Linked DNA regions of Homo sapiens: region 1 is linked to region 2. Evidence: promoter capture Hi-C in 16 types of primary human blood cells and fetal thymus (Javierre and others, 2016). All regions are on one chromosome and are shown on one strand. Each heading gives the region's core, a stretch centred on a gene start or on the middle of the fragment in contact. The rest is flanking DNA. Distances are from core to core; before and after follow the strand shown.

The links. Contacts are between HindIII fragments. The CHiCAGO score rates a contact against its expected background, and 5 or more counts as called.
Region 1: a fragment that was not itself captured here is called in contact with the fragment with the promoter of PUF60 in region 2 in 1 of 17 cell types (non-activated CD4 T cells); the score reaches 6.2 in non-activated CD4 T cells.

What each region holds. Positions count from the first base shown.
Region 1 is chr8:144,074,758-144,077,775 of GRCh38, forward strand. It overlaps a transcript of EXOSC4 not described here. Among named protein-coding and RNA genes, the nearest start is that of EXOSC4, 2.4 kb to the right of the region's middle. The HindIII fragment of the contact is 259 bases long and covers 1,424-1,682 here.
Region 2 is chr8:143,827,994-143,831,313 of GRCh38, forward strand. It overlaps PUF60 (poly(U) binding splicing factor 60), which reads right to left and starts at 1,322. Exons shown (of 12, transcript NM_078480.3): 1 at 1,287-1,322. The coding sequence starts at 1,310. It overlaps LOC107986985 (a long non-coding RNA gene), which reads left to right and starts at 1,287. Exons shown (of 3, transcript XR_001746138.2): 1 at 1,287-1,411; 2 at 1,853-2,045; 3 at 2,716-3,320. It also overlaps a transcript of NRBP2 not described here. RefSeq lists a silencer at 1,040-1,609 and enhancers at 1,394-2,093, 1,414-2,613. The HindIII fragment of the contact is 7,973 bases long and covers 1-3,320 here.

The DNA of each region.
Region 1 (3,018 bases), core at 303-2,802, 250 kb after region 2:
GAGATAGTGTGTCACTATGTTGCCCAGGCTGGTCTCGGACACCTGGCCTCAAGCGATCCTCCTGCCTCAGCTTCCCAAAGTGTTGGATTACAGGCACGAGCTACCTCACCCAGCCAAGCCCTGAACTGTTATGGCTCATATGTGGAAGAAATTTGATAAGCGGTTTCCTCCAATTTAATGACAATTCTAAAAATGTACATATTACCCAAAGGAGCTTTTACCTGAAAGCAACTTAATTATTAGTAATAAAATTAAATTTTGATCAAACATGTGAGAGGAGAAACTAAATCATTTTCTTGGTTTTTGTTTATTTGTTTTTTGTTTTGACAGGGTCTCATTCTGTTGCCCAGGCTGGAGTGCAGTGGTGTGACCACAGCTTACTGCAGCCTTGACCTCCTGGGCTCAAGTGAGCCTCCCACCTCCACCTCCCAAGTAGCTGGGACCACAGGTATGCACCACCATGTCCAGTTAATTTTTTTTTTTTTTTGAGACAGAGTCTCGCTCTGTCGCCCAGGCTGGAGTGCAGTGGTGCGATTTCGGCTCACTGCAACCTCCGCCTCCTGGGTTCACGCCATTCTCCTGCCTCAGCCTCCCGAGTAGCTGGGACTACAGGTGCCCGCCACCACGCCCGGCTAATTTTTGATATTTTTAGTAGAGTCAGGGTTTCACCGTGTTGGCCAGGATGGTCTCGATCTCCTGACCTCGTGATCTGCCCGCCTCGGCCTCCCAAAGTGCTGGGATTACAGGCGTGAGCCACCGCGCCCGGCCCATGTCCAGCTGATTTTTTGCATTTTTTGTAGAGATGGGGTTTTGCCATGTTGTCCAAGCTGATCTTGAACTCCTAGGCTCAAGTGATCCGCCTGCCTCTGCCTCCCAAAAGTGCTGGGATTACAAGCGCGAGCACCGCGTCTGCCATATTCTTTCTACATATAGAAGGTTACGTTATAAAAAGGTGTTGTCATCTTAAGAGAGCATCAGAGAACGCATCAAAGAAATGTAGGGGAAACCTGTTGGAGTCAAATATGTCAGGCAGGTTTTCTGCATTTTGTGATGTTTGTAGTATTTGACAACTTTTAAAATGTTTGTTATGTGTTGGGACTTCTTTTCTCACTATTCACTTAGTTTTGGATATACAATTTTGTCTTATGTTTCAAAAGAAGACTGCATAGAAGAGTTAACAGCAGGCCTGAGAAGCTCTTCTTCACAGGCAAGTTTGAAGAGTGGGTGTCTGGGAACTTGGGTTTTTCATGGTTCCCCCACTCTCTGGTAAGCGTGTCTCACTGTGCCTAGACTGTTTGTACAAATATGGCTCATGCTGAACACCTGTGTTGCTTCTAGGGGTCTGGAATTTGGGCACATGCTTGGCACAGACTGTGTATGTGACCAGCCCTCCATAAAACCCCAGGGCGCTGAGTGTCTAAGAAGCTTCCCTGGCAGACAGCATTTCACACACACGGCTCCAGCTTCTTCCCGTGGAGTCCACCAGGAGAGGACGTGGCCAGCTCACGCCTGATTTCCTGTGGAATTCATCCCATGCACCTTTTCTCTTTGCTGATTCAGACTTATATCCTCTCTGTGTAATAATCTTAGGCGTGAAGACAAGTCTATAGTGAGTCCTTCTAGCAAATCGGTTACTCTGGAGGGGTCTTGGGGATACCTCTCACGGCCCCTGAATTTGTATAAGCTTTAGGCCTCCAAAATTTGAATCGACCCATGTGTGTACCCTAAAGCTGGAGTACGAGGGTCAGAGAACCAAAGGTGTGAGGTAGGAGTGGCCCCATAATCCTAAACCTGTAATGCTGCCAGGTTGGAGGCCTGGTTCCTGAAGATGAATACTTCCACCAGGGAACACAGCAAAGGTTCCACTGATCTTGAAGTAGCGGCTATCACTGGCCCACTTTGGACACCTTAGGCTGAAGACCAACATCGTCCTCATTGTCCTGAGTTGCTACGGTCAATGCTACACAACTGGGGTGGGCAGTCCACAGAGCTCCCTGGGCGTCTAGTCTTCCCGCATGCGGCAAGGACTGTCAGTGGACAACCCAGTAATGGCCATGCGTGGTGGCGGGAGGCCGAGGCAGGTGGATCACCTGAGGTCAGGAGTTCAAGATCAGCCTGGTCAACATGGTGAAACCCCATCTCTACTAAAACTACAAAAAAAAAGTTAGCAGGGCATGGTGGTGCATGCCTGTAATCCCAGCTACCTGGGAGGCTGAGGTAGGAGAATCGTTTGAACCCAGGAGGTGGAGGTTGCAGTGAGCTGAGATTGTGCCACTGCACTCCAGCCTGGGTGACAGTGAGACTCCATCTCCAAAAAAAAAAAAAAAACCTTAGCCAGGCATAGTGGCAGGTGCCTGTAATCCCACCTTCCCAGCTACTTGGGAGGCTGAGATAGAAGAATCACTTGAACCCTGGAGGTGGAGGGTGCAGTGCGCTGACATTGTGCCACGGCACTCTAGCCTGGGTGCAGAGTAAGACTCCATCTCAAAAAACAAAACAAAACAAAGAAACAAACGAAAAAAACGATGACTCAGTAAGAACAGGGACAGTAAGAGCTCAGACTGAAAGGGGAAAAGGGCTCCACAATAAGCAGAGTGGCTGTAGAGCAGAGGGTGGGGAATCCGGGGTGGCAAGTGGCAGAGGGTGGTGACCCATCATGGCCTCAGACCAGCTGCAGCAGCAGGGTTGTGGCTTGCTCACTCACTCTCATGCCTCAGTCTTTCAGGAGAGCTTAACCACCTTGGAGGGGATGCTGTGACAACTGAACTTGGGCCCCTGCAGCAGACCACATTTCCCTAGCCCGCCTGCTCTTCCTACAGTCTAATATTGACACTCCTCCCACTGAAGGGTGGGGTCCCTGTCCTCATCCCTTAAGCCTGGGCAGATCTGTCTGACTGCCTTGACCCACAGAGTGTGGCAGGAGGGACACTATGTGACTTCTGAGGTTAGGTCCTAAAAATACCATGCACATGTTGTCCACCTTGTTGTCCTGGAAGGCTACCCTTGGAACCCAGTTGC
Region 2 (3,320 bases), core at 72-2,571:
GAAGACAGTCACCAGGTCCTCAACCCTTACATCCTTTCTCTCTGGAGTGCCCCTCAAAGGTCACTTACTCCTGTGGCTTCAAGAGAAAGGACATAGTAGAAAGAGTGGAGTTAGCCAGTCCTGTGAATCACACACTGGGCTGCCCTCGCAAGCTGGGTATCTTGTGTAAATGCCTCTCTCCCCCTAGTAACTGGTTTCTGCCTCAGTGGGACATGGGACCAGCCCGCCCGCTGGGGGCCTGGCAATGGCAGTCTAAGGACACTCCCTGGTCCTGCCAGTCCAGCCTTCAGCCATTTGCCCAAGCTGTCTTCTCAAACAGACCTTATCCCATCCCGCTGGGTGTGGGCTGGGGGAAGGGTGACAAGTAATACAGGGGTAAACTGCGGCTGAGAAAGGTCCAAAAGGGGATTAGGTCCTATAAGCTAAGTGGTGAGAAGGAAAGACCAGACTTCATCGTGCATGTGTTGTGTGCATGGGTGTTCTCCCTCTACGTTAATAACGCCTGCCCTGCCCGGGGAAGTGGGCACTGAGCAGAGCAGGGGGCGACTCACTCCTCTGGATGCCCACGCAGCTCCCTAGGGCGCCCAGCAAATGGCACCCTGGGTGGGAACTGGCTTCTGGTGCGCACTAGACCTCCAACTGCCTGTCTGGTTCCCCACTGCGTCCCCAGATCCTCCCGCAGAGCTGGGGACAATGCGATTTCTCAAAACACGTAGGATGAGAGCGCACGTCCTTCCTTTCCACGTGGAGACAAGAGAATGGAGATAACCAGATCCCTCTCCAGCACCGGAGAACGAATTCACAGCTGCAGGCGTAGTGAGCCAAGGCCGCCCCATGCTCTGAGCTGCAGGCCCCTTTCTACAGGTCCCGTCCCCTTCTGATCCCATCAACCCGAAGGCCCACGCGTCACCCCCAGAACCCCGCTTCCGTCGTGACCACGGCGCACACCCCCGTCGGCAAAGGGAGGACGACGACCCCCGCTTGCCGGACCTAGCGGACAGGAACGCAACCCCGCCAGGCTCGCCCGCAAGGGCCACACGCCGCGCCCAGGCCCCCGCCCCGCCCCGCCGGAAGCTGGGGTCCGCAGGCCGGAAGCTGAGGCCGCGAGCCGGCCGCCGGCGCGCGCCCGCCCCGCCCCCGCCTCACGCGACCCGGGGACACGAGGGAGTCCGCGCGGGACCTGGGAAGACCGCCGCGTTCTTGGGAGGCCCTCCGCGCCCAGGCTGGGTCGACGACCCGGCCCCGCAAGCCGAGGGCCGCCCGCGCTCATGGGGGGGCTCACTTACGAGAGCTATGGTCGCCGTCGCCATCTTGCGTCCGTCGCGGCCTCCGCGCGCGCCTCCCACTCTTGCTCCTTCCGCTGTCTCGCGCGATCTGGGTGCCGGTGCACGGAACTCTCGCGAGGAAGGAGGTAAGAACGCGCTTCCGGGGCGGGGAGGAACGGTAAACGCCCCCGGGAGGGGCGACGGAAGGGGCGTGCTCTTGGCCGGGCGAGGGGCGTGGCCCGCGCACCTCGGGCGTCTAGGGGCGTGCGCCGCGGGACTCGAGTCGGGCGTATCTCTCCGCGTGGCCGACGCGGGCGTGCGTAGTACCCTTCGCCGCCCGTCGCCCTTGCGGCCACTGCTACGCTTCTCTTCTCTGCCTTTTTTGGAGAAAACGCTGTCGCGTGCGTCGTCCAGAGGCTCTCCCCCAGGAGGCAGGCGAAAGAGCGGGGCCCTCCTGGGCTGGAGGAGTCTCGGGTGATGAAAGGCCCGCGTGTTTCAGGCTGACGTCGTGAGATGCGTCGTCCCCGCGTCGCGACATCCCTGGGACCGGGAGGCCCCGTTCAATTGGCAGCTTTTTCTCCTTCCAGGGAACCGATGACCCTAGGTTGGCTGACATCAGTCGCTAGACCCGCAGCCCGCAGGCCCCGTTAGTCCCTGAACTGGCTTTCATGGCCCAAGGTGTCTGTCAGTACTGCTGGGAAAGCTGCCTGTCCTGGACATTTGCCATCTGCTGCACCCAGTCCCGAGACCCCAACTCGGTCATCCGAAGAAGCCACATCTGTAAGCTCAGGCACCTTCAGCTGCCTAAGGCCACAAGGCATCCCGGGCAGGCCTCCTTTCAACCCTGGGAACATTTAGAATTTAATACAGACACTTCTACTTAAATAGGGCAGAATATTCCCCGCCTCCCTCCTGAAACCTTCCAAAATTATAGGAAAGGGGTTTTATAAAGACAAACCCTGCAAGGGCAAAGAGCTGGGATATTGCAGAGCTTAAGAAAGGTGGACAGCGAGAGCTACTCCAGCCCACTTGGCTATGGAGGCCAGTGTCTGAGGGTCGTGGGTGAAAGCACAGCTACAGAAAGGAAACCCCAGACCTCTGTCCCTACCCACCGGGGCTGGCAGGCACTGCAGTGTCTGAGACGTGAGCTCCAGGAGAGGAGCTCTGAGGCCCTGCTCAAGCAAGGCCCTGTCTGAAAGCCTGGGAGTAAGTGAGACTCTGGGTCCTACCCCTGCCTCCACCCCTGGGCTGGGTCTGACCACCCGCATGCCATCAGGCTTCTCAGAGAAGAGGGCTCCTCTCTGCAGCAGCTCCTAGCTCAAAAGAAAAGACTGGCAGGGCACCTAGGGGTAGAGTGTTGCCCAGTAGAATGGCCCAGCCAGATCCCTGGCCTCGAAGCTCACCAGGTCATAAGCCCCAGCCACTAAAAGCATCTCACTCTTCAATGCAGCTGGACAGCCCAGGATCACCAGACACCTGAGAAAGAAGAAAAGGGACTCAGAAGAAACAGAGACGATAAAGGAAGCCGAAGAAAAATGAAAACTAAAATGCCATTCTCAGTCAATAAAAAGGAACTGGGGGCTATAGAGAAAGAAACCTCGGGATGAGAAAGAGCTCTTAGAAATAAAACATGAGGGGAAAGTGAGCAATTCAATAGGCTTTTAAGATGAAGTCTTCCAGAATGTATAATGACAGAACCAGATAGCTGGAAAACAGAATAGCAGTAACACAGGTGGGTGCTCTTAGGGCTAGCCTGGCACACAAGGCCTCCACAATGGAGGGGGTGGATGGGAGGTGGGGGGCTGGTCTGCCACCACCACCAGGGGAAGCCACAGGCACCACCCTCTGGGGACAGCTTCCCTTGGCAATAATGTGCACGCAGGATGCATGGTGCCCAGGACTGTTCTTACACACATTCATTCATGGGATCCTCACAACCCAGTGCTATGCAATGGATACAGCTGTTACCCCATTTTTACTGATGGGCAACATCACAAGGCAGGGAGCAGCAGTAGAATGGCTCCAGAGCCTGTGTTCTTGCCACCACCATGACTG